Regions from separate parts of the Homo sapiens genome. Here all the other regions are linked to region 5. The links are contacts of gene promoters, found by promoter capture Hi-C in blood cells and fetal thymus (Javierre and others, 2016). All regions are on one chromosome and are shown on one strand. The core of a region is centred on a gene start or on the middle of the fragment in contact, and the rest is flanking DNA. Distances in the headings are between cores, read along the strand shown. Region 1 overlaps WDR33 (WD repeat domain 33). Region 2 has its middle 11 kb from the start of SFT2D3. Region 3 overlaps WDR33 (WD repeat domain 33). Region 4 overlaps WDR33 (WD repeat domain 33). Region 5 holds the start of UGGT1 (UDP-glucose glycoprotein glucosyltransferase 1).

Region 1 (5,337 bases), core at 2,237-4,736, 310 kb after region 5:
TTGGGATTGCAGGCGTGAGCCACCGCTCCTGGCTCCTGCTGTATACTTTAAATTTTCTTTAGATTGCTTATACCTAATACTATGTGAATGTTGTGTAAATAGTTGTTGTACTATATTGTTTAGTACAGATGCAACCATCCATTTATTCCCGTCTAATATTTTTCTTCCTCGGTTGAATCCATGGATGCAGAACAGATAGATACAGAGAGCCTACTGTACAGAGTGGAAGCTGCTTCCCCCAAGTTATGAAAAATTATGCAACTAAGGCCGTACCTGAACGCTAGAAAGCTAGAAAACTGCCACATTTGGTTAATGAAAATTGATCTTCTTTTTGAGATCAATTTTCTCAAAATTGATCTGCAAATTTGAGATCATGCCCAGGCTGGAGTGCAGTGGTGCAATCTCGGCTCGCCGCAACCCCTGCCTCCCAGGTTCAAGCGATTCTCCTGCCTCAGCCTCTTGAGTAGCTGATATTACAGATGTGCGCAACTTTCCCTGGCTAATTTTTTGTATTTTTAGTAGAGACAGGGTGTCACCATGTTGGTCAGGCTGGTCGTGAATTGCTGACCTCAAATGACCCTCCTGCCTTGGTCTCCTGAAGTGCTGGGATGACAGGCATGAGCCACTGCGCCCGGCTGAAAATTGATTTTTAATGTCAAGTTTAGTGATCCACAAATTTGTAGCAGCAGTTGTAAAACACTTGACTTTGAATATTCCATATGTGTGTTCTCAGCATGGATTTTTTTTTTTTTTTTTTTTTTTAGAAAAAGAGTTTCGCTCTTCTTGCCCAGGCTGGAGTGCAATGGCGCAATCTTGGCTCACCGCAACCTCCACCTCCCGGGTTCAGGCAATTCTCCTGCCTCAGCCTCCCGAGTAGCTGAGATTACAGGCGTGTGCCACCACGCCTGGTTAATTTTGTATTTTTAGTAGAGACGGGGTTTCTCCATGTTGCTCAGGCTAGTCTCAAACTCCCGACCTCAGGTGATCTGCCTACCTCGGCCTCCGGAAGTGCTAGGATTATAGGCATGAGCCACTGCACCCGGCCTCAGCATGGATTTTTTTTTTAACCAGCTAGTGAATTGCTCATGTTAACTTTTAAGGTAGAAATTTTTATTGAGATAATTGTAGATTCACATGCATTTTTAAGAAATAATACAGAGAGATCCTTAATACAGAGATTCTATTTATGTTACCCAGTTTCTCCCAATGATAACAAATTGTAAAACTGTAGTACATTGTCACAAGCAGAGCATTGATAGTGATATGGTCTGCAGATCTTATTTAGATTTCCTCCAGTTTTACTGTACTTATTTGTGTGTATCTATAGTTTTCTGCAATCTTACTATATGTTTATGTTCCTGTGTTCGCCACCATAATCAAGATATTAACAGTTTATCACTACAAGAGTTACCTTTTTTATAACCACACCCATCCACCCTCTCCTACCCCCCTAACTCTTGGCAGTCATTTCTATTGTTTTGGCATTTTAAGAATGTCATATAAATGAAGCGTACAATATGCAATCTCTTGGATATGTTCATGTGTCTATTACCACAGTCAAGATAATAGAATCTCGAACTTTAAAAAGCTATTAATTGGGCCGGGCATGGTGGCTCACACCTATAATCCCAGCACTTCGGGAGGCTGCGGCAGGTGGATCACTTGAGGTCAGGAGTTTGAGACCAGCCTGGCCAACATGGTGAAATCCCGTCTCTATTAGAGATACGAAAAAAATTAGCCGGGTGTGGTGGGGCACGCTTGTAGTCCCAGCTACTTGGGAGGCTGAGGTGGGAGAATTGCTTGAACCTGTGAGATGAAGGTTGTAGTGAGCTGAGATGGTGCCACTGCACTCCAGCCTGGGTAACAGAGTGAGACTGTCTCTCAAAAAGTAAAAAATAAAAAGCTATTAATAAATTAATTATTTTGAGATAGGGTCTCATTCTGCTGCCCAGGCTGGAGTGCAGTGGTGTGATCATGGCTCACTGCAGTCTCAAACTCCTGGGCTCAAGGGATCCTCCTGCTTCAGCCTTTTGAGTAGACGGGACTGGAGGTGAAAGTTTACTTTTGAAGGAGGAGGGTCTCACTGTGTTGGCTGGTCTCCAAATCCTGGCCTCAAGTGATCCTCCCACCTTGGCCACCCAAAATGCTGGGGTTACAGTCATGAGCCTCTGTGCCTGGCCAAAACCTACTTATTTAAACAGCTTCATTGATTATTCTTTAACAGATTGAATGGTCTCCATGTAATTTCTCCTGATTTTTCAGGATTCATATTAATTAAAGTTGGACAATGAAGAGAAAGAGCATGTTGATCATTTTGTTACTGGTCTAGCCTGCCGCTCATGAAGATCCCCTCAAAGTTCAATGACAGATTGGGTATCAAATTTCTTTTAGAGTAGATTGATTATCTTAGAACCTAGTGGACTATACATAAATAATCTAAAACAGGTTTCCAGGCTGAGGTTTTGACCCTGGGGTCAGGAGTGTTAATGGAGGTGGGAATCTTAAAACTTTTTATTATTTTTACACTTTGGGAGGCCGAGGTGGGCGGATCACGAGGTCAGGAGATCGAGACCATCCTGGCTAACACGGTGAAACCCCGTCTCTACTAAAAGTACAAAAAATTAGCTGGGCGTGGTGGCGGGGGCCTGTATTCCCAGCTACTCGAGAGGCTGAGGCAGGAGAATGGCGTGAACCCGGGAGGCGGAGCTTGCAGTGAGCCGAGATCGCACCACTGCACTCTAGCCTGGGCGACAGAGCGAGACTCCGTCTCAAAAAAAAAAAAAAAATCAAAAAAACCTTTTTATTATTTTTAAAAGTCCTATATGAATTGCTAGCTAGTTAATGCATCAATAATTTGCTTTTGGTTAGAATTCTGTTATCTCAGTTTGGGAAAACAAGCTTTCTTGTTCTGATTGGAAGCTCTGATTAGTGGCTGACATGGTAGGAATTGTTGGATTTGATAATTGGATCAAATTCTGGTACCATAGCTACTGTGATCAGCCACAGTATTCATACTGGACAGATGCTATATGTGATCTTCTTTGGCTATGGATATGCAGTGGCAGCAGACATTAGGTGATAATAAACAGAAAATACACAGGAAGGGAATACCTCACAGTGTTACTAACAGCAAGCCCTTGGCTTTCAATTGACAGATTCCTAGGAAGAAAATACTTTGTAAATATTGTGACCCTGTATGCATACACACAAACACAATAGAAACAGTAGTTGCACAAAAACAGTTCTTTCAAATGCGCAGTTCTATCATATGTTCTATTTTTTTTAACTTTTTTTTTGAAACGGAGTCTCGCCCTGTTGCCCAGGCTAGAGTGCAGTGTCGTGATCTTGGCTCCCTGCAACCTCTGCCTCTGAGTTTCAAGCTATTCTCCTGCCCCAGCCTCCCAAGTAGCTGGGACTACAGGTGTGCGCCACCACACCTAGCTAATTTTTGTATGTAGTAGAGATGGGGTTTCACCATATTAGCCAGGCTCGTCTCGAACTCCTGACCTCAAGTGATCCATCTGCCTTGGCCTCCCAAAGTGCTAGGATTACAGGCATGAGCCACCACCCTGGCCCTATTTTTTTTTTTTTTAATTATTAAAATAATGCTGCTTGTCAGCCACATTGATTTCAGGAACCATCAATGGGATGTGATTTCTGGTTTAAAGAAAAAGCACCGCTTTAGGCTCATTCATGATATTTCATGTCAGCATTTTTTTGATGCCAGAGCCTCGCTCTACCCCCAGGAATCTTAGTTTAAAACTCTTTTTACTCATTTGTATGAAGCATTCAGTAAATTCATTTTGTATTGAAGCTGAGGAATTAGTTGAGTGCTAGCTAGGTCATTTTCCTATGTGTTTTAGTTGGAGATCTATTATGGTAAAATAATTCAAATGGTAGTCAGAAATTTGGTTGGTGAAAGATTATTTTGAATTATGTTTGGTTGGGGAAAAATTATGCTGGCCTTGGTATGCTGAGTGAATTAGAGAGCTTTATTTACTTTTTTTTCTCAAGTGTCTCTCCCCTGACACCCCCTGCCCTTGCCTCCCTCACTTTACTCAGAATTTAAGCTTCTTAAGGCTGATTGGTGCTGTAAGTTTCCTGTGCTATATCCCTTGTAATAGTGCCTCTCACACAGCGTAGTAGTGTCTCAGTGTAGTAGTAACTTCTCACATTGTTCTTTTGAGCTCTTCTGTACTGAGAAACGGTCAGACTCTTGAGAACAGAATGTGTGTGTGTGTGTGTGTTCATTGTCTGGCAGGTAGTCAGGGCTCATCAGTTTTTTTGTTTTTGTTTGTTTCTTTTTTCTTTTTTTTTTTTTTCTTGAGATGGAGTCTTGCTCTGTTGCCCAGGCTAGAGTTCAGTGGCATGATCTTGGCTCATTGCAGTCTTTGCTTCTTGGGGTCAAGCGATTCTCCTGCCTCAGTCCCCTGAGTAGCTGGGATTACAGGCGTCAGCCACCACGCCCAGCTAATTTTTGTATTTTTAGTAGAGATGGGGTTTTGCCATGTTGGCCAGGCTGGTCTCGAACTCCTGACCTCAGGTGATCCCACCCACCTCGGCCTCCCAAAGTGCTGGGATTACAGGCGTGAGCCACTGCACCCAGCCAATAATTTTTTAAAATTTTTTTGCAGAGATGGGGGTCTTGCTATTCTGCCTAGGCTTGTCTCCAACTCCTGGCCTCAAGAGATCCTCCTGCCTTGGCCTCTCAAAGTTTTGGGATTACAAGCATGAGCCACCACACCCGGCTCATTTTTAACTTTTATCTTCAGCTATAATTTCAGTATCATCACATGACTAAGATTATACAAGAAGTTATCTTGTGAGCATTTGGGACAAGAAGCAGAATTGACCAGGTGCAGTGGCTTATGCCTATAATCCCACCACTTTGAGAGGCTGAGGTGGGAGGATCGCTTGAGCTCAGGAGTTCTGGACCAGCCTGGGCAACAAAGCAAGATCTGTCTCTACAAAAAATGAAAAAAATTAGCTGAGCCCAGGTGGCACACATGTGTAGTCCCACATACTTGGGAGGCTGAGACAGGAGAATCACTTGAGCTGCAGTGAGCTGTGGTAGTGCCACTGTATTCCATCCTGAGCAACACAGCAAGACCCTGTCTCAAAAAAGCAGAATTATAACGTTGGTATAGACTTGTGCATACAAACATTGACACACTAAGTCTGAGTGTTCCATTCTGTTCAATAGTATAGTCACCACATTGTTGAAAGATACAAATTTAATGCAAAATAATATTTTTGAGGCATGGAACTCATTTTACAGGTTGAGAAAATAATGGAGAAATTGACTGGCCTTCCTGGTTTTCTTGAGCAGTTGAAAGC
Region 2 (5,450 bases), core at 1,732-4,231, 400 kb after region 5:
AAATTTTTCATTCTTCCTGTTTCCATTAATATCTGGTTATGGCTAAGTGTGGTGGCTCATGCCTGTAATTCCAGCACTTCAGGAGGCCGAAGTGAGAGGATTGCTTGAGGCCTGTAGTTTGAGAACAGACTGGGAGACACAGTGAGACCTTGTCTTTACAAAAAAATATAATTAGCCAGGTGTGGTGATACACACCTGTAGCCCTAGCTACTTGGTAGGCTGAGGTGGAAGGATTGCTTGAGTCCAGGAATTCAAGACTGCAGTGAGCTATGATTGCACCACTGCACTCTAGCCTGAGCAATAGAATGAAACCCTGTCTCTTAAAAAAAAAAAAAAAACTAAATGAAGATTAAATGACAATGTCTCATTGGAGAGTATCAATAAAGGAGTAGAAATTATAAAAATGAACCAAATAAAAAATTCTGGAGATGAAAAGTACAATAAACAAAATGAAAAGGCCAGGAGTGGTGGCTCACATCTGTAATCCTGGCACTCTGGGAGGCTAAGGCAGGAGGATTGCTTGAGCCCAGAAGTTCGAGAACAGCCTGGGCAACATAGTGAGACCTCACCTCTAAAACAAAACAAAACAAAAACAAAATGAAAAATTCACTGGATAGGATAAACAGTAGATTTGAGTTGGCAGAGAAAAGAATCAGTGAACTTGACACATCAGTAGAAATAATGCAATCTGAAAAATAGAGAAAAATATGAAGAAAAATGAGCAGAGCATCAGAGCAATATGGGACACCACTAAGTGCACCAGCATATTGATATGGTTTAGCTTTGTGTCCCCACCCAACTCTTATATCAAATTGTAATCCACGATGTTGGAAGTGGGGCCTGGTGGGAAGTGATTGGATCATGGGGGTGGTTTCCAATGATTTAGCATCCCCCTTGGTTGTGATAGTGAGTGTGTTTTTGTGAGATCTTGTCATTTAAAAGTGTGTAGCACCTCCCCCCTCCCTGTTTCTTCCTCCTGCACTGGCCATGTAAGACATGCCTGTTCCCCATTTGCACTCTGCCATGATTGTAAGTTTTCTGAGGCCTCCCCAGAAGCTGAGCAGATGCTGCCATGCTTCCTGTACAGCCTGCAGGACCATGAGCCAATTAAACCTCTCTTCTTTATAAATTACCCAGTCTCTGGAATTTCTTTATAGCTATGCAAGAATGGACTAATATAGAAAATTGGTACTGAGGAGTGGGACATTGCTATAAAAATACCTGAAAATGTGGAAGTGACTTTGGAACTGGGTAATGAGCAGAGGTTGGAAGAGTTTGGAGGGCTCAGAAGAAGACAGGAAGATGAGGGGAAATTTGGAACTCCCTACGGACTGGTTAAATGGTTGTGACCAAAATGCTGATAGTAATATGGATAGTGAAGGCCAGGGTGAGGAGGTCTCAGATGGAAATAAGGAACTTAATGGGAACTGGAGCAAAGATAACCTTTGTTACATATTCGCAACAGAACCTGGTGGTGTTGTGCCCCTGCCCTAGGGATCTGTGGCACTCTGAACTTGAGAGTGATGATTTAGGGTATCTGGTGGAAGAAATTTTTAAGCTGCAAAGTGTTTACGGATTGGCCTGGCTGCTTCTAACAACCTACGCTCATATGTGTGAGCAAAGAAATGACCTGAACCTGGAACTTATATTTAAAAGGGAAGCAGAGTGTAAAAGTTTGGAAAATTTGTAGCCTGGCCATGTGGTAGAAAAGAAAAGCTAATTTTCGGGGGAGGAATTCAAGCAGGCTGCAGAAATTTGCATAAGTAAAGAGGAGCCCAAGTGCTAATAGCCAAGACAATGGGGAAAAGGTCTAGAAGGCATTTCAGAGACCTTCGTGGCAGCCCCTCCCAGCACAGGCCTGGATGCTTCAGAGGACTGAATGGTTTTCTAGGTCAGGCCCAGGGCCCTGCTGCCCTGCACAGCCTTGAGACTCTACTCCCTGCATCCCAGCTGCTCCAGCTCCAGCTGGCTGAAAGGGGCCCTGGCCACTGTTTCAGAGGGTGCAAGCCATTAAACTTGGCAACTTTCATGTGGTGTTAAGCCTGCAGGTGCACAGAATGCAAGAGTTTAGGCTTGGGAGCCTCTGCCTAAATTTCAGAGGATGTATGGAAATGCCTGGATGTTCAGGCAGAAACCTGCTGCAGGGGCAAAGCCCTCATACAGAACCTCTACTAAGGCAGTGTGGAAATGTGGGGTTGGAGCCCCCACACAGACTCCCCACTGGGGGACTACCTAGTGGAGCTGTGAGATGAGGACCTCTGTCTTCCAGACCTCAGAATGGTAGATCCACTGGCTGCTTGCATCCTGCACCTGGAAAAGCCACAGGCACTCAAGACCATCCCTTGAGAGCAGCCATGTGGGCTGAACCCTGCAAAGCCACAGGGGGAGAGCTTCCCAAGGCCTTGGGAGCCCAGCTCTCACACTAGTGTCCCCTGGATGTGGGGCATGGTGTCAAATGAGATTATTTTGGACCTTTAAGATTGAACGACTACCCTGCTGGGTTTTGAACTTGCATGGGGCCTGAAGCCCCTTTCTTTTGGCTGATTTCTCCCTTTTGGAATGGGAGTATTTAACCAATGACTGTACCCCCATTGGAAGTAACTAACTTGTTTTTGATTTTACAGGCTCATAGGTGGAAGGAACTTGCCTTGTCTCAGATGAGATTTTGGACTTTTGAGTTAATGCTGGAATAAGTTAACACTTTGTGAGACTGCATGATTATATTTTGAAATATCAGAAGGACATGAGATTTGGGAGGGGCCGGCGGCAAAATGATATGGTTTGTGTCCCCACCCAAATCTCGTGTTAAATTATAATTCCCAGTGTTAGAGGTGGGGCCTGGTGGGAGGTGACTGGATCATGGGGGCAGTTTCCAGTGGTTTAGCACCATCCTCCTTAGTCATAATAGTGAGTTCTCATAAAATCTGGTCATTTACAAGTCTGGGCCAGGCACAGTGACTCACACCTGTAATCCCAGCACTTTGGGGGGCTAAGGGGGGGCAGATCACCTGAGGCCAGGAGTTCAAGACCAGCCTGGCCAACATGGTGAAACCCTGTCTTTACTAAAAACACAAAAATTAGTTGAGTATGGTGGTGGGTGCCTGTAATCCCAGCTACTTGGAAGGCTGAGGCAGGAGAATTACTTGAACCTGGGAGGCAGAGGTTGCAGTGAGCAGAGATTGCACCACTGCACTCCAGCCTAGGCCAGAGTGAGACTCCAGCTCAAAAAAAAAAAAAAAAGTAGCACCTCCCTGCTCCTTCTCTTTTCCTTCTGCTCTGGCCATGTAAGATGTGCCTGTTTCTCCTTCACCTTCTGCCATGAGTATAAGTTTCCTAAGGCCTCCCCAGAAGCCAAGCAGATGCTGCCACACTTCCTGTACAGCCTGCAGAACTGTGAGCCAATTAAATCTCCTTTCTTTATAAATTACCCAGTCTCAGGTATTTCTTTATAGCAATGTAAAAATGGACTAATACACATAAGAATAATGGAGAGAAGTGAGAGAAAGGGACATAAAAATTATTAGAAGGCACAATGGCTGAAAATTTCCCCAAATTATTTGCTTATTTATTTAAAATTTATTAATATTATCATGTTTATAGAAAGAGTCTTGCTCTGTCACCCAGCCTGGAAGGCAGTGGCACAAGCATAGCTCACTCTAACTTTGACTCCCTGGGCTCAAGCATTCTTCCTGCCTCAACCTCCCAAGTAGCTAGGACTACAGGCATGCACCCCAATGCTCAGCTAATTTTCAAGTTTTTTGTAAAGACAGGGTCTTGCTGTATTTCCTAGGCTGGTCTTGAACTCCTAGCCTCAAATGATCATCCCACTTCAGCCTCCTAAAGTCCTGAGCTTACTCATCACCTAAAGGCAAGAGCCACTGTGCCTGACCAATTTCCCCAACTTTGATGAAAAACATTATTCTAAACATCTGAGAAACAATGAATTTCAAGTAGGATGAACACAAAGGCATTCACACTCAGACATATTATAGTCAAATTTTGAAAGCCAAAGATAAAGATAAAATCTTAAATGCAGCAAAAGGAATACAATTCATTGTGTACCAGTAGTACAATAATATTGACAAATGATGTCTCATCAGAAGCAATGGGGGCTAGAAAGCCGTGGTATGACATGTTCAAAGTGCTTAACAGTAAAAACAAAACAACAACAAAAAACCTGTTAACCAATAATTCCATACCCAACAAAACTATCTTTCAACAATAATGGCAAAATAAAAAGCACTCCAAAATAAATAAAATCTGACTGAATTTATTGCTACCAGTCCTGAGTAACAAGAAATATTTAAGGTTTTTCAGATAGAAAGCAAGTGACACCAGAAACTAATTTGAATCCACATGAAAAACAAAAGTGTTGGTAAAAGTAGATAATTACAATATAAAGTATAATTGCATATTTCTTCTTCTCCTCTTAACTGATCTAAAAAGTAATTGCATAAGAAAATATGCATGTAACTTTTTATGGGCTATGCACATATAGGAATGTAATATGTGTCAACATTTTGTCAAAATGTTATTTAACAGTAACAGCACAAAGGAGATGGATGAAAAATTACAGCCAACATCTCTTATGAATATACACAAAAATCCTCAACTAATTACTAGCAGCCTAATCCAGCAACATATACAAAGGATTATATACCACATTGAAGTGGGATTTATCCCAGGAATGCAAGGTTGGTATAATATATTAACATCAATCACTGTAATACACTACATTAATACACTGAAGGACAAAACTCATATGGACATTTCAACAGACATAGAAAAAGCATTTGACAAAATTCACCACTATTTTTTTTTTTTTTGAGATGGAGTCTCACTCTGTCATCCAGGCTGGAGTGCAGTGGCACGATCTTGGCTCACTGCAACCTCTGCCTCCCAGGTTCAAGCGATCATCATGCTTTAGCCTCCCGAGTAGCTGGGACTACAAGCATGCGCCACCATGCCCAGCTAATTTTTGTATTTTTAGTAGAGATGGGGTTTCACCATGTTGGCCAGGCTGGTCTCAAACTCTTGACCTTGTGATCTGCCTGCCTTGGCCACCCAAAGTGCTGAGATTATAGACATGAGCCACCATGCCTGGCCCACCACTCTTTCATGATAAAACAAACAAATGAAAACAAGAACAGAAGAGGACTTCTACCAACAATGGAAGAGAGCTTCCTCCTCAACACTGTAAAGGGGTTTATGAAAAACCCACAGCTAAAATCATATATATATATTTTGAGACAAAGTCTCACTCTGTAGCCCAGGCTTGGAGTGCAGTGTTGCTATCCTGGCTCACTGCAGCCTTGACTTCCTGGGCCCAAGTGATCCTCCCCCCTCAGCCTCCGAAGTAGCTGGGACTACAGACAGGCGCATGCCACCATGCTTTGCTAATTTTTTTTTTTTTTTAATTTTTGTAGAGACAGGATCTCCTTATGTTGCCT
Region 3 (5,204 bases), core at 2,107-4,606, 380 kb after region 5:
CATCCCATTTCTTTTTTTTTTTTTTTCTTCTTGAGACGGAGTCTTGCTCTGTTGCCAGGCTGGAGTGCAGTGGCACGATCTCGGCTCACTGCAGCCTCCACCTTCCAGGTTCAAGTGATTCTCCTGTCTCAGCCTCTTGAGGAGCTGGGATACAGGCTCACACCACCTTGCCTGGCTAATTTTTGTATTTTTAGTAGAGATGAGGTTTCACCATGTTGGCCAGGCTCGTCTTGAACTCCTGACCTCAAGTGATCCACGTTCTTCAGCCCCCCCAGAGTGCAGGGATTATAGGCGTGAGCCACTGCGCCTGGTCCTTTCATTCCATTTCTTACTCTTCTTGTGAATAGATGGTTAAGGCCGGGCACAGTGGCTCACGCTTGTAATCCCAGCACTTTGGGAGGCCGAGGTGGGTGTATCACGAGGTCAGGAGTTCGAGACCAGCCTGGCCAACATGGTGAAACCCTGTCTCTACTAAAGATACAAAAAATTAGCCGGGCATGGTGGTGCGTGCCTGTAATCCCAGCTACTCGGAAGGCTGAGGCAGGAGAATCGTCTGAATCTGGGAGGCAGAGATAGCAGTGAGCCAAGATTGCACCACTGCACTCCAGCCTGGGTGACAGGGCGAGACTCTGTCTCAAAAAAAAAATATATATATATATATATATATATATATATCTGTATATGTGGTTGAGTTAGGGTTGGCCAGCCCACCCTCAGGGGTGGTGAGAAAAGCAAGGCTGATGACAGGCTCAGAAGCATGACATAGTCGGGGCTAAGGAAGCAATTGTTTTGGGGGAGGGGAGATAGGGAGGTTAAAAATAAAGACGTAAGGGCTCCCAGTGTTTTTAAGACCCTCTCTTAATGATATCCAAGCATTACCTTTGACATGGCTTTTTATGACTAGAAGAGCTTTACATCTGCGTAATGTTCACTGACTTATTGAATCTCTGCATCTTGTGCAAAATGTTACATTTTACCTTGTCTTTTTTTTTTTTTTTTTTTGAGAGGGAATCTTGCTTTGTCGCTCAGGCTGGAGTGCAGTGGCATGATCTCGGCTCACTGCAGCCTCCACCTCCTGGGTTCAAGCGATTCTTGTGCTTCAGCCTCCCGAGTAGCTGGGATTACAGGCACGCGCCACCACGCCCAGCTAATTTTTGTATTTTTAGTAAAGATGGGGTTTAGCCATGTTGGCCAGGCTGGTCTCGAACTCCTGGCCTCAAGTGATCTGCCTGCCTCGGCCTCCCAAAGTGCTGGGATTACAGGTGTGAGCCACTGTGCCCGGCCATCCTGTCTTGATTTGTATTGTGTTTCATCTGTCAGTGCAGACCCATAGCCTAGGCTGGTGTGTGAGAGTGTAAAGGTATTGTGATTATATAGGAGAAAGTTCTTGTTCTTAGAAGAAATGGACTGAAGGATTTAGGGGTAAAGCTCGTGTTGGCAACTGATTTTCAAATGGTTTAGAAAACATGTTTGTGAGTAGCTGGACGGAGAAGATAAAGCACGTGTGGCAAAATATTAAGAAGGGATTGATCTGGGTGGAGGATCTGGGATGTTCATTGTACTGTTCTTTCAGCTTTACTGTAAGTTTGAAAATCTTCCAAGTAGAAGATTAGGATAAAGGCAATGGAATGGAAACCTGAGGAAGAGCAGAGGCCTGGCCTGGGAGGAGGCCATGCAGCTCATGCAGAGGGGCCCTGCAGGGTGGCGCCACCGCCTCTCAGTGAGCGCTGCCAGAAGGTCACTTTCTCTTCTTTCGCACAGACCTCCTGGTACCCTCTCTGCCTCAGCAATACTCCCAGTCAGTGTAGTCTCCTGGCTCCAAAATTCCTGAGAGAAGGGGAAGCTGTTCACTAAGCAGGGCTCCAGACTGCCAGCTAGCCAGTGGATCGCTGCCTGTAAACCAGATGCTGACCTGTGTGCCCATCAGCTGTGGACTCGGGCCATGAGTGCCACTCGTGGTCATGGAGGCCTGCCCCTGGGTGGAGGCTGTGGGCTGGGGCAGATGGCAGAGCCCCTACCTACAGACAGGTCCAGTATGGTTGGCAGACACGATCTGTGCCCCCATTTTTCTGATTATATGTCATAAATGTTCATCATACAAATGTAGATGATAATGATAAGTATTTGTGAGGCAGTGATACAGAACCTGGGCCGAGGGTCAAGACTGGCTGAGTTCAGATCACCAGCACTTACTCTGTGTCCTTGAATAAATGATGTCAGCAATCTGGGCCTCAGTGTTCTCATCAGTGGAACTGCTGATAATACCAGCTTCATATGGTGGCTGTGAAAATGAAATGAATGAAATGAAGTAATACTTGTATATACCTAAAAGCCTAAAAGAAGCTTAAAGTAACTCCACACTCTGGTGTGTTTCCTTCTGGTCTGTTTTTGCCTCTGATAGTATTAATAGGATTATATAATGTATCCTTTCAAAAATATATAGTTTTATTTTGTTTTCCTCCCAATTAACATTGTATCATGCTTTCTCATATCATATGCTTCTTTGAAACATGAACTTAGAGTGGCAAGGTGTTCTCTGAGATGGACATTCTGCTGTTTTCTCTTTACAGTTTCAGAAGAGGAGCCCCGCCGAGGCATGAGGGCCGTGCTCCCCCCAGAGGAAGGGATGGTTTTCCTGGTCCTGAAGACTTTGGTCCAGAGGAGAATTTTGATGCTTCTGAGGAAGCGGCCCGAGGACGAGATCTCAGAGGTCGAGGTCGGGGTACCCCACGAGGTGAGCGAGTTACTAAAGACACCTGGTCTGGAAGGATAGGGTGCAGAATACACTGGTTGTGAATACACCAGGAACAGTCTGAGTGCAGCATTGTTTGCTCTGTTGTGTAGGAGGAAGGAAGGGTTTACTTCCCACTCCTGACGAGTTCCCTCGCTTTGAAGGAGGGCGGAAGCCAGATTCCTGGGATGGAAACAGAGAGCCTGGTAAGGAAAAGAACCGCTTGTTGGGTAACTCTAGACTGCAGTTCACAAAGTGAGTTCTGAGGGCCCTCTCTGGGGTGCACCGGGTCTCCTCTTTCCAGCTCATGTCTCCCGGGGGGCTGGGCTGTCTCCTGTCCTGCAGCCGCAGCACTTGATCTCAGCAGGTGGAATGCAGAGCAGAGGAATCCGCCAGACATTACAGGGATCTATCTGAGTATAAAACGGGACTGCTCTTTCCACTAAATTGCTTTTGGAGAATAAAGTTAAGTGAATTAAAATTTCCCCAGTCTCAATTGCTAATATGGTAAATATTCGCAGTTACAACTCTCATTAACAAAATCTCTTAGGAGTCCTCAGTAATTTGAGACTGTAAAGACGTCTTGATACTACAATGCCTGAGAACGAGTTCTCTGGATCTTACCTGCCCCTCTTACATGAGGAGGCACCCTGATGTCTGGGTGGCTTACCCTTTGGCCTCTGGCGGGCATTCAGCATGAGTGAACGGTGGCTCTCGAGTTGCTCCTTACTCTCACAGTGTCATTCCCATCTACTTCTGGTCACACTGTGCTTTCCTGTAAGGAGATTTGTTTCTTGTTTCAGGGCCAGGTCATGAACATTTTCGTGATACTCCCCGCCCTGATCATCCCCCTCACGACGGTCATTCCCCAGCCAGCAGAGAACGCTCCTCTTCTCTCCAAGGCATGGACATGGCATCCCTACCTCCCCGAAAGCGCCCCTGGCATGATGGCCCAGGCACTTCTGAGCACAGAGAGATGGAGGCCCCAGGAGGCCCTTCTGAAGACCGAGGAGGCAAAGGTAAGAGCAGGCCAGTGGTTATGGTTCCAGGAGATGCAGGGGCCGATGGAGGCCTTGCCTGTATCTGCTGCACATGCCCTTGCAGCCTGGGCTGTGCAGAGGCACATGCTCCTAAATGTGGTGCCAGTGCCACACGAGCTGTCATCTGGTGGACTGCAACTCAGCCCTGCACAGGACTCCACTTGCCTCCGGGAATCCCTGTTCACTTGAGGTTTTCACTTCAGCCCTCTGCCAAGATGCCCCAGCACTCTCTGCTCGGCTTGCTGTCTGGGAGCCCTGCTCTCCTTGGCAGTCTGCCCTCCACAAGGCTGCTTGGAACCCTCAAGGGCTCTCAGTGGGAGGGGAAGAGTTGTCCTCTCCTGGGTGGTCTGTTGGTTTTTTTAGCCTGGGTCTAGAGGAACACTGCTTGTGCTCAAAGTCACAGAGACTTTGGGAAACATGGTCTATGGGCAGTGTTTCCAGGGGCACAGTAGATTATCTCCTCAACTGGGAACTGTGGAGCTTTATGTTATAGGCAGCACTAACTTTAGCCAGGAGTAGTTGCCTCTGAAGGCTGACTATACAACTCTGGTTGCAAGGCAGCGGGGGAGGTGCATAGGTGGTGTGGCTCGGAAGCTTCTGGGAAGGCTGCTCCCCGCATGCCCCAGCTTGTGCTCTGCTCCTGAAGTTGGCCTGTCTGTATGGACGGTCCTTCCAGTACAGAGTTCTGCCATTTGGTCTTTTTGGGTTTTTTTCTGTCGCCCAGGCTGGAGTGCAGTGGTGTGATCTTGGCTTACTGCAAGCAACCCCCGCCTCCCAGGTTCAAGTGATTCTTGTGCCTCAGTCTCCCCAGTAGCTGGAACTACAGGTGTGCGCCACCATGCTTTTGTGTTTTTAGAGAGATGGGCTTTTGCCATGTTGGCTAGGCTGGTCTCGAACTCCTGGCCTCAAGTGATCCACCTGCCTTGGCCTCTCATGAGCCACCATGCCTGGCCTGCCATTTGATCTTGATAGTTGTTTGTCTCAACAAAACCCTCAGAAATTACCTTATGTATCATCAATAGATCACCCTGCATAAACACATTGTACTACTAGCCAGTGTGCTGTGACCTTGGCTGACTTTCTTGGGCACTCAGCACACCATTATTAGGTCCCTCTGGTCAAGGACATGCAGTTAGCATGGGAATGATGTAGTAGCTGACACTCTGCCCAGGTGCCTCAGGTGGGTTGAAGCTGCACTTTCTAAGAAAAGAAGCCAAGATTGTTCCTTTGGCTGGCTCTCCTAACTTCATCTCAGCTAGATTCATATTCTATTACAAAATATGAGACAGCGGAGAGTTTGCAGTCATCTTCTGAGAGTGCATTATGGGAGATGTGACCAAATCCTATCATTTCCTGAGGAAAAAAATCTTACAAGATAGAATTTTTTTTCCTTTTCCTTTCTTTTTTTTCTTTTTTTTTTTTTTTTAAATATA
Region 4 (5,293 bases), core at 1,328-3,827, 350 kb after region 5:
TGACTGCATAACAATAACTGATGTATATGGGGATCTCGCAACCTGGCTTCGTTAGCAGTGCCATTCTCTAACCAATCAAGCCGAAGACCAAATGCAACACTGAGATGCATTTTTTTCATCAGTCATGCATGGTGAAAGGTATATTCTATGAATTGCATGGAAGTAAGAATTGGAGACAGTACTTTTTGGTAGGTTTACAATATCTTGAAAAAATATGAAGTGCAGGATGAAGGTGTATTCACACCTACACAATATGCCATATGGAAGCCTGAGATCTGTGGTGGAAGAGTACTGGGGAATGTAAGGGTGGAAAGGTAAGGAAAGAATTGGGTGGGATTAAGAGTTGTTTTTCTTGAGAACTTCTGCCTTTTACAAAGGTAATAAACATTCATAAAAGGTTCACTTAGAAGTAAAAAGTCAACGTCTTTCCCCTCTTATTTCCCAATTTCACATCCAGAGGTAAGCACTGTTCTGTTGAAGCTTGGTGTATATCTTTTTAGAATTCCTATACATATACAAAAAGATGCTTTTAAAAATCACTACATGAAAGGAGATTATACTACGTATATTCTTTTGCTATTTGCTTTTCTCACTATACTGTATATTAAGGTCATTTTTCTGCATCATTACTACCCCAGTCTTTTTGACTGCATGTATCTACTGTAATTTATTTAACTATTCCTCACTGATAGGCCTTTGGGATTTGCAAGAAGTTTTTGCCAAGACACAGTTGTGCACTAAGCTTCCTAATACCTTTATATTTGTGTTACTTACGTAAATTTTCCATTAGGTTAGACTCCTAAGAATAAACTCAATGGAGCAAAGGGTATGAACATTTAAACTTTTGGAAGATGAGTTGTCTTCACTGTCCAGGAAGTCATCAACGATGAAGTTTAAGAAAGTTCTTGTCATCTAGCCAAACTGAAAATAACACAGGATTAACATTTTAGGAAATTGTCACCACCTAAATATTTAACCTTATTTTTAAAAATCACTAATAATAAGCACACATGGTAAAAAGTCTTTCCTCCAGCCCCATAGAGGGATGGAATATGAAATTTAAAAATCTGCCAATCCTTTACCTCTCCCCAGAGGTAGTTTCTTAAAACTAATTGTTTCTATTCTTGTGGTCATCAGAATTTCACATAATATGTATTTTGGTATATCTGTCTGACGTAGTGCCTCTTTCTGTCATCAAAGGTGAGGAATTGAGTGTTATTCACACCACCAACCATGCCTCCTACCTCCTCGTTTTTGTCATAATGAATTGTAGTTTCAGTGGTTTTCTTTATAGCTTTAAATGTTCTTAAACCTTTATTTTTAAGGGGACTGCCAACTTTAGCCAATATTCCTTGGCTCACCACTAGGTTACAGAAGGAAATCTGTGCCTCTCAATGTGTTTCCACTTCTGCCGTTTGTCTTCCTTTACTTCTGAATTGTCAAGGATTTTAAGCCAATTTTATTCTGTTCTTGAATTATGGCTACTTTTGTTTTCTTCATATTTTAAAATTCTAAACAATGAGAACAAAAAAGATAGCATTTCTGCTATGAATGATACTATTGATAACAGAACCAAGCAGTATAATGGGGCCTTGCAGAAAGAGTGATAATCTTGTGGTAGTTAATGAAAAGTTGTTCTGCTTGGACAGTGTCAAGATCAAGTATGCTGCTTTTGTATTAAGTCTGTCATGCTGTCAACTGTTGAAAATAATGCCATAGTTTAATTCACTTTTGTCTTGCAATTTATTATTACCTTTCCTGTTTTTAAAAATCAATGTCACTAAAACCTTTATCATAGCAAATTTTTAGGTTTTTAATTTTTCAATTTGAGTAAATGGTTTTTGTTTTTGAAGGCATTCTTTTAAGTCCACTCTTTTTTTATTTTTTCCCAGTTCAGTTGAAAATCCTCAAACATTTTTCTCAGAAATAGCGCTTAGGAGGTAAATCAAAATTATTGAGTCTGGAAAGGTATTTAATTACCATCATACTTGACTCATAGTTTGGGGTTTGAAATCCTTTGCCTTCTGAATTTTTACGTCCTTCATTATCTTCCATCAGTTTTACTGATAACTCAAATATAATCCTGAGTCTCATTATTTTATATATATCTTGACTTTCCTCTCTGAATGTTTTCTGAATGATCTCTTTTCTCTGAGGGGTGTTTTTTTTTGTTTTTTTTTTTTTAACTGTGAGTATAGGTATACATATTTTAAACTTCATCTTTCTTGGCATACTGTCATCTGCAGTCTTATCTTTTTTCCATTTAAAGGATTTTTCTTTCTTTGATGATTGTTTCCATTGTCTTTGCTTGTCTTACGGAATTCTTAGGAGATGACTGTTGGGCTGTTTGGAGCTGTCTATCTAGTATTATTTTTTCTTACATGTTTTGTGTTCCTGCCCTTTCTCTAAGTATTGGGAGATTTCTGTTTGTCTCCTGGAATACTGATTTACTTTTCAATCATGCCCAGTCTGGTTTTCAGCCCTTCTGGTGATTTTTTCTTCCCTTTTTTTTTTTTTTTTTTGAGACAGGGTCTCTGTCTCCTGGGCTGGAGTGCAGCGGTGCAATCATGGCTCACTGTAGGCATGACCTCCTGGGCTGAAGCGATCCTCCCACCTCTGTTTCCTTGGTAGCTGGAACTACAGGTGTGAGCCACCATGCATAGCTAATTTTATTTTTATTTTTATTTAGTTTTAATTTTTTGTTGCCTAGTCTGTTCTCAAACTCCTGAGCTCAAGCAATCCACATACCTTGGCCTCCCAAGGTCCTGGGATTACAGACTTGAGCCACTGTGCCCAGCCGAAATTTTTATTTTTATTTATTTTTATTTTTTGAGATGGAGTTTCGCTCTTGTTGCCCAGGCTGGAGTGCAATGGCACGATCTCAGCTCACTGCAACCTCTGCCTCCCAAGTTCATCCTGGGTTCAAGTGTTTCTCCTGCCTCAGCCTCTGGAGTGGCTGGGATTACAGACACCCACCACCACACCTGGCTAATTTTTTGTATTTTTAGTAGAGACAGAGTTTCATTATGTTGGCCAGGCTGATCTTGAACTCCTGACTTCAGGTGATCCACCCGCCTCGGCCTCCCAAAGTGCTGGGATTACAGGTGTGAGCCACCGTGCCCAGCCGGAAAGTGTTATTTTTATCAACTGCATGTTTACTTTTCAAGAATTTCTAGTGGTTCTCTAATCTTTTCATTTTTCAAGGAAGCCTGTTTTGTAGTTGGTTTGTTTTTAAGGAATATACCCCTTAAAACCTTTAACATAGTAATTGGGGTGTTTGTGTGGATGTCTGGTTTGATCTGTTGTTCCTGTTTGTTTTCCCTAAAGTCATATAATCTGTATTTTTCTCTTTCCTGGTACTTGCTTTTTCTCAAATAACGCAGTGACCCTTGGTTGTCCAGAGATTTGAATGGTGGTTTGTATTGGTTAGTATAAGTAGCTATCTTGCATTTTTTTGCAGTTAAGTTCGCTTACCTACAAGGGTCCTCTCCTGGATGGAAGATCTCACTGTGGATTCGTGTGTCTGTGTGTGTGCTTGTACATGTGTACACACGTGCATGTTTGTGTGTGTTTAATGAAGTGAGTGGAGAAGCACAGGCCACTGCCACATTTATCAAGTAAGTGGGTTGTGGTTTGTACTCTGAGGTGGAGTGCTTAAGTTTATTCCACTCTTAAGTGGAACTGCCATCTTTCTCTCCTCCCTCCCTTCTCTTTTCTCTTTTTCTCCTCCTCTCCCATTCTCTCTTTGCCCTCCACTTCTTTCCATTTTCAGTGTCATCCGTGGCATTTCTGCAGACTTTGTGCTGCTTTACTCTTCAGCCTCAAATCCTGCTCTAGGGTTTCTTCCCAGACTGAAATGTGCTTTTTGTAACAAATGTGCTTTGTATAATTTGCTTTGTCTGACTGAGAGCATCTGTTCTACAGAAACAGGAAGTCAGGAGGGACAACCTGGACAAGTCTCCCTATAATTACCCTCATTACTTCATCACAGCCTTTGTCACTGAGCCTTTGCCACAACCTTTGTCACTGACAACTACAGTCTATGTATTTTGGGTTTCATTTTTCTCTACTCTGGTTTATTCATAGGTAGGGTCCATCTGTTTTTAGAGAATGGCCACTTTTTGGTTGAAGTTTTTTCAAAATTTCCTAAAATTTGTAGCCAACATATGTCAGTCTTGCGAAATAAGTTCATCCTCTGCAAACCTTTGAAAGTAATTTAGGAAGAGGCTTGCATATTTGTTTTTACTTAGTATTAAATCATGATTTTATTCCAAAGCACAATTCCCTTTTCACATTAGTGGCGTTGAAATAATCTTCCTTACCTCTTTCCTGATATTCTCCCAAGTTCCATCATTTTTCCATTTCTTAAGACATCTTTCATAGTTAAATTTTAATCGTATACTTGAAGCTTAAGGTAATCCATGGCATTGGGGGATTTAGAGATGAGTAATCAATTAAAATAATTGAAAGATTGTGTTGAACCCAGCTCTTTTCTTTTTTAGAGACAGGATCTCACTCTCACCCAGGCTGGAAGTGTGGTGGTGTGATCTCAGCTCACTGCATCCTTGACCTCCCGGGCTCAAGCCCACCTCAGCCACTGCCCATGTCCCCCTGGGCACCATGACACCCAGCGTGTGTGTATGTGTGCGTGTGTGTAGAGAAATACAAATCCGTGTGTGTGTGTGTGTGTGTGTGTGTAGAGAAATACAAATCCCTCCCAAAGTGCTGGGATTATAGGCGTGTGCCAACGCTGGTGGCCCAGCATTTTTCCTGTAGATTTTTTGTCCCCCTAGAAATGAGTTAACATTCTTTAACAGTAGAGAAAATGTAGACGGAACCATCAGACATTCACACCACAAGTAAAAAGGAAGTGATTGGTATCATCTTCTCAGTGTTGGAGGTGGCATTGTAGTCTAGTGGAATCAGTACTTACATTAAAAGTATTACCTTAAGTACTCAGGACTTAAATGCTGTTTTTCTTAGTAGTATCTGTCTTTCTTAAAAAAAAACATAATCAACATAGTGAATGTAATGGTGGTCTCTCATTTTGTGTTTTCTAGTTCTGAGAGGTAAATGGCATTACATCAAGTGTATTACTTGGGGTGAATGTTCATAATCAGAATTCAGTGTTATTTTTTCTGGAGTCATTTGAAAACTGAAATTTAGCAGTCTTACAAAAGTTGCACTTTGGGAACATGCTCTCACATCGAGCCATTTTCTGCTTTCCCATACTCTGTTCATAGTAGTAACAGCTCTTGCTGGATAACTAAGTCTATATGGAAATAGCTGTCCC
Region 5 (5,377 bases), core at 2,608-5,107:
TTGGGACTGGCCCAGCGCAGTGGCTCACGCCTGTAATCCCAGCACTTTAGGAGGCTGAGGTGGGTGGATCACCTGAGGTCAGGAGTTCAAGACCAGTCTGTCCAATGTGGTGAAACCCCGTCTCTACTAAAAATACAAAAATTAGCCAGGCATAGTGGCAGGTGCCTGTAATCCCAGCTACTCAGGAGGCTGAGGCAGGAGAATCGCTTGAACCCGGGAGGTGGAGGTTTCAGTAAGTCGAGATCGCACCACTGCACTCCAGCCTGGGCGACAGAGAGAGACTCCGTCTCAAAAAAAAAAAAAAAAAAAAAAAAAAAAAAGCATTCTCTTAGGACTAACCATAGACACCCTTTCCCACAGGCCCACAGACTGCAGCCTCAGAAACCTGCTCTACAGGACACAATAGACACGGTTTGTAAAAAAAGGGAACCTTTTAGCATCAGGGCAGCTGTGATCAATTCCTGAGTTTGCTACGTACTAGCAGTTTAACCACATATATGTTACCTAACTTCCCAGGCCCTTAGTCTCGAAGACTATCAAAGTAGGAATAATAGTATCTGCCTCACAGGGTCAATGTGAAAATGAAGAGGCAATAAAAAAATCACTTTGTAAAGTGCCAAGTACTATACCAGAATTGATTGTTGTAGTAAAACATTTTATCGTAAGAAAAAACTATCTTCTAAATTACAGAATAGTACATCATCGTTATTAAATAGCCTCAAAAATACACATTGGAAATATATCCTCTGTGGCTGAGAGAAAAAATTCTCCCCAAAAGTTACAGAGTTTTTCTTTTTTTTTTAATCTGGCCTGAGTCAATGAGTTTATAAACTGGAGACAGCGCATCATATGAACTGTCTAGCAGTATTACGCTATTAGCTATGTTTACAATTTGTCCTGAAGGGGTCTAGATGTGTACACCCCAGAAAGTGGTGATTCCTGATGACGAATTGGACGCCACTGCACTGTAACCCCAGGTGGATGGCATGTAGAGTGGGGAGGAAATTGGGGGTATGACAAAGTCCCCTGAGGAAACCCCAGCATTTAACAAGCAATGACTCTGAGCTAAACATTGTATTAGGTGCTTTACATACACAGTGTTATCTAATCCTTACATACAACAACCCAGGGCACTAACGTTCTCTGAGGGGAGCAACCATGTCTACTTCGTTTACCAAAGTGCACAGCATGATGCCTGGCACTCAGAAGACAGTCCATGAATATGCTGCATGCATCTCCACTTTAAAAATAAGTGAAAGCTCGAAGATGCTGAGTACCTTGCCTAACTAATAAATAGCAGTGCTTAGAACCCACACCTTCCTGCTTTTAAAGTTCTACAATACCGTGCTCTCTTCTCTGGTTCTCTGGCTTTACAAAAGGGTAAAAAGCCATACTCTGTGCAGACTCAGACTGAGAAAAGTGCTTGTGAGAACCAAGGCAAGTCCAAGGATTTTCAGTGGCCACAGTTCTTGGGAGACAGGTGGCTGAGAAAGGAATAGTTTTAACCTGAAACCAAGGGAGGAGGCCTGAAGCTGGGACCGAAGCAATCCAACCAACCAATCTGACAGATCCACACTTACGCTGGCTTTGGGGACCGATGGGAGCTCCTCAAGAGCAGGGTGTTTTGTCTATCATGGTCTCCACGCCTAGCATTATGCCTGAAACATAGAAGGCTCTCAAAATGAAATAAACACAGGCCTCATTCATTAAGGCATGAATGGAAACAACAGGAAAGGAGTGTGGCACCAAGAGTGAAGATGCTATAAAATGCCTAGGACTGCAAGATAGGTAAAATGAAAATCCTATGAACCTGTGGCCTGCCTCGAGATCCCCCTACACTGTTTTCAAAAAGGAGAGAGAGTACGTGTTCTTGGGGAGAGATGCAGCACCATTTGAGATGAAAAAAGGAGGAAAGCTATACATTAAAAAAGAGCTTTGCCACTCTGACCCCACATTCTTAACTCTACAGGTAAAACCAGAGGAAAAGACTGTCCAGAGAAGCAGACGTAAGAATCTCACTGAAGTGGTCTCTGCTTTGAGTATGTCTTCATTTTATAGGATCCCTTATCATTCTGACCCTAGGGGTTCTTAAATGTTGCTTATAAAGACAAACAGTCTGAGATAATGGCCAACAGAATGTGCCATGTGGCTTTGCATGATAAGCATTATACTTGCGGCATGATGAATAAACAGAAAACACTCTTTAACAAGTTCTAGGCCCAACTATCAACAACCATCCGTAGGAGGCTGAGGTAGGAGGACCACCTGAGCCCAGGAGGTGGAGGCTGCAGCTAGCAAGATCATGTCACTATTCTCTAACCTGGGCAACAGAGCAAGACTCTGCCTCACCAACAAAAAATAAAAAAATAAATTAAAACACTATCTCTTGCACCATTGCACTCCAGCCTGGGTAACAAGAGTGAAACTCCATCTCAAAAAAAAAAAAAAAAAGAAAGAAAGAAAGAAAATTATCACATCATCTTGTATTGTTACAGGGAAACTTAGATAAAAAAAGAAAATGCTCACAGACAGCTGCAGGAAAGTTCTAAGCAAATTTTCTTCTTACTTTCATATATTCCCCTGAAGTTCAATGTGCATTATAAATGTGCTATGCTACTGTACAAAGTATTATGGTCACTTCCTTTAATAAGTTTCATGTGGCCAGGAGTTCAAGATCAGACTGGTAGGTAACAAGACCTCATCTCTACAAAATAAATAAATAAATAAATAAATAAGAATTTTTTTAAAATAAGCTTCAGCTAAGTTTATCAAAAGCAAGTCAAGTGTTGCTAAATTCGACTGGCTTAAAAAAAAAAAAAGCAAAGTGAAAAGGCTACAATTATTCCAAGTTTTGTGGTGCTGTTAAATAGCTATTTAAAATGTCTTCAAACGCCTGCAAGTGTAAGATTCTTGAAGGAAAGAGGGCACTTTACACTAAAATTGGCTGGCAAGTACATCAATGAATGTTTCCAAAACAGTTAGTGTAGCACAATAAGGCAAAAGACCCCAGGACTTCAAACGAACAAAATTGCTCCTTCTCAAATCTGGCAAGAAATGCAAAACAACTGCAGATTCTGGCCAAGGAACAAAAACAGTTCACATCTATAAGTTATTGGCGACGGACGCAGATCTCATTCTGGCAGGTCCCACGCTAAAAGTGAAACCATATCATCCAATTTCCAGCCAACAGATCACAGTGTTAAAAGAAAACAGTAACCAATACGCATCAACCCGAATTCATTTTAGGAAAAATTGAAATCTATTTTAAAAAGCACGTCGTTCTGCAATCAGGGTCCTGCAAAGTGCTGCTTCTCAACTCACTGAGGATCAAGCTTGGTCTAAATCCATGGTAGGATACCTCCCCCATTTCCTTCTGCACTTGGCACAAGGATCTAAAGCTCTTCAAAGAAGGTTCAAGACCGCTGAACAGAGCCCGCCGCCACCCCCGCGGAAGCGATACCTTGCCAAGAAGACCACTGAGGGCAACTCGGGGCGCTCGCGAATAGGGGAAGGGATAGGACACCAGAGGGTAAACTGAGTCACGGTAGAGGCGGAAGCTCAATGTGACAGGGGCACAGGGTCGCCTTGTGCCCCAAACCCTCTCTTTGTCCACGAGGCCTCCTCACGCCACCCCTGGGTACCTGTCACCGGCAGCGCACCCGCGGCACACGCACCGCTCGCGTCTCCCTTGCAGCCCATGCCCGGGCCGTGGTCAGTCCGCCACAGTGCCAGAGACAACGCCAGGGCAGGGCGGGGCGAGGCGGCAGCGGCAGTGCAGGCTGCGCCAGTGAGAGGCCGACACGCGCCTTTCCCGCGGCTCGACTCAACACCCAGCCTCGCAAAGCAATTGCCCAGCTGCCGGCCGCCCTTTTACTTCCGCTTCCTGCAGGCGAACGCTGGAGGACTTCCGGATACCGAGTCGAGACCTAGCAGCCCAGAGCGTCGCGCGGTCGCCCTCTCATCTCCGAGGGTTGGGGAGGGGGGAGTCCTGCCTCTCTCCTCACTTCCGCCTTTCAGGGTGGCGGGTAGGCTGCCGGTCTTCAAGGTCTTGGGAAGGTTCGTTGGGCCAACAGCTGAGACCCGAAAGCTTCAACAGTCAGTCGGTGAAATCCAGTTTGGACTCTGGGACTTACTCCCTTAAACCTTTGTTAAAAGCTTACTCCCTTTAGCCTTTCGGTGGCACAGTAAGGACAATTGTCTTAATGTTTCTGAGCATCTTAGACTTTATACTAAACCCTAAAATTTTGATAGCTACCTTCCAGGAGGCATGATGAAAGGAAGACTTTTTAAATTTTATGAGCCGCTTGAGCTTTCTTATTCGGACAGCGGCAGCTTAGTCTACAGGGACTACTTTGTCCTTTTAGTATTTTTTTTTTAACTAATATAAACCAGTTTAAAATTGTTTTGGAATAGGTAGCATTTAACCCACCCAAAAATGAATACCTCTTTGGAGGGTATATTTTTAAGTATATTAAGTCAAAGTGAATGAAAAGCCAAAAATATTTTTTTGGAGTTGGAGTCTCGCTCTGTCTCCCAGGCTGGAATGCAGTGGCGCGATCTCGGCTCACTGCAACCTCCGCGCCCCCGCCCGCGCCCCCCACCCCCCAACCCCCCGACCCGCATTCAAGCGATTCTCCCACCTCAGCCTCCCCAGTAGCTGGGATTACAGGCGTGCGCCACCGCGCCTGGCTAATTTTTGTATTTTTAGTAGAGACAGGGTTTCACCCTGTTGGCCAGGCTGGTCTCGAACTGCTGACCTCAGATGATCCACCCGCCTCGGCCTCCCAAGTGCTGGGATTACAGGCGTGACCCACTGCGCCCGGCCCAAAATAATTTTAATAAATAAACATGAGCCAACATGATGAAGGGGAGGAAGGAGAGGAGGATGAAGGAGATGACTAATGGAACACTGATGGAGGCCGGGCGCGGTGGCTCACGCTGAGGATGGAGGCTGAGGCAGGAGAATGGCGTGAACCCGGGAGGCGGAGGTTGCTTGCAGTGAGCAGAGATCGCATCACTGCACTCCAGCCTGGGCGAGAGAGGGAGACTCCATCTCAAAAAAAAAAAAAACAGCAACAACAACAGCAAAAAAACACTGATGGATTCCAACCTTCCTTTTTTTACATTTTCTCCAGTCCCTGGGAGCAAGTTGCAGTTTTTTTGTTTTTTTGTTTTTTGTTTTTTCTCTCTTGTGCTCAGTCGCCCTGTTCTTGAGGTTTCTTTTCTCTACACTATAGTTCTCAACTTATTTTGGGGGAAATAACTTCAGCAGAATACAATGGGAAAAGAGTCTCTACCCCTTTCTGTTCGAAATTCATTTTTATCCCTTCCTGTCTGAGCAAAAACTGTATAGAATCAACATCACCCCAGCTCTGTG

What was found. Contacts are between HindIII fragments. The CHiCAGO score rates a contact against its expected background, and 5 or more counts as called.
Region 1: a contact is called between a fragment that was not itself captured here and the fragment with the promoter of UGGT1 in region 5, in 1 of 17 cell types (total CD8 T cells). The highest score is 5.2, in total CD8 T cells.
Region 2: a contact is called between a fragment that was not itself captured here and the fragment with the promoter of UGGT1 in region 5, in 2 of 17 cell types (total CD4 T cells and naive CD4 T cells). The highest score is 6.6, in total CD4 T cells.
Region 3: a contact is called between a fragment that was not itself captured here and the fragment with the promoter of UGGT1 in region 5, in 1 of 17 cell types (activated CD4 T cells). The highest score is 5.4, in activated CD4 T cells.
Region 4: a contact is called between a fragment that was not itself captured here and the fragment with the promoter of UGGT1 in region 5, in 1 of 17 cell types (total CD8 T cells). The highest score is 6.4, in total CD8 T cells.

What each region holds. Positions count from the first base shown.
Region 1 is chr2:127,777,425-127,782,761 of GRCh38, reverse strand. All of the region lies in intron 1 of WDR33 (WD repeat domain 33), which reads left to right. Among named protein-coding and RNA genes, the nearest start is that of WDR33, 31 kb to the left of the region's middle. The HindIII fragment of the contact is 1,172 bases long and covers 2,901-4,072 here.
Region 2 is chr2:127,687,330-127,692,779 of GRCh38, reverse strand. No RefSeq gene overlaps it. Among named protein-coding and RNA genes, the nearest start is that of SFT2D3, 11 kb to the left of the region's middle. The HindIII fragment of the contact is 6,533 bases long and covers 1-5,450 here.
Region 3 is chr2:127,707,223-127,712,426 of GRCh38, reverse strand. WDR33 (WD repeat domain 33) reads left to right here. Exons shown (of 22, transcript NM_018383.5): 19 at 2,571-2,734; 20 at 2,845-2,937; 21 at 3,535-3,750. Among named protein-coding and RNA genes, the nearest start is that of SFT2D3, 8.3 kb to the right of the region's middle. The HindIII fragment of the contact is 2,022 bases long and covers 2,346-4,367 here.
Region 4 is chr2:127,739,752-127,745,044 of GRCh38, reverse strand. All of the region lies in intron 7 of WDR33 (WD repeat domain 33), which reads left to right. Among named protein-coding and RNA genes, the nearest start is that of SFT2D3, 41 kb to the right of the region's middle. The HindIII fragment of the contact is 3,666 bases long and covers 745-4,410 here.
Region 5 is chr2:128,089,680-128,095,056 of GRCh38, reverse strand. It overlaps UGGT1 (UDP-glucose glycoprotein glucosyltransferase 1), which reads right to left and starts at 3,857. Exons shown (of 41, transcript NM_020120.4): 1 at 3,642-3,857. The coding sequence starts at 3,699. RefSeq lists an enhancer at 3,786-4,095. The HindIII fragment of the contact is 755 bases long and covers 3,335-4,089 here.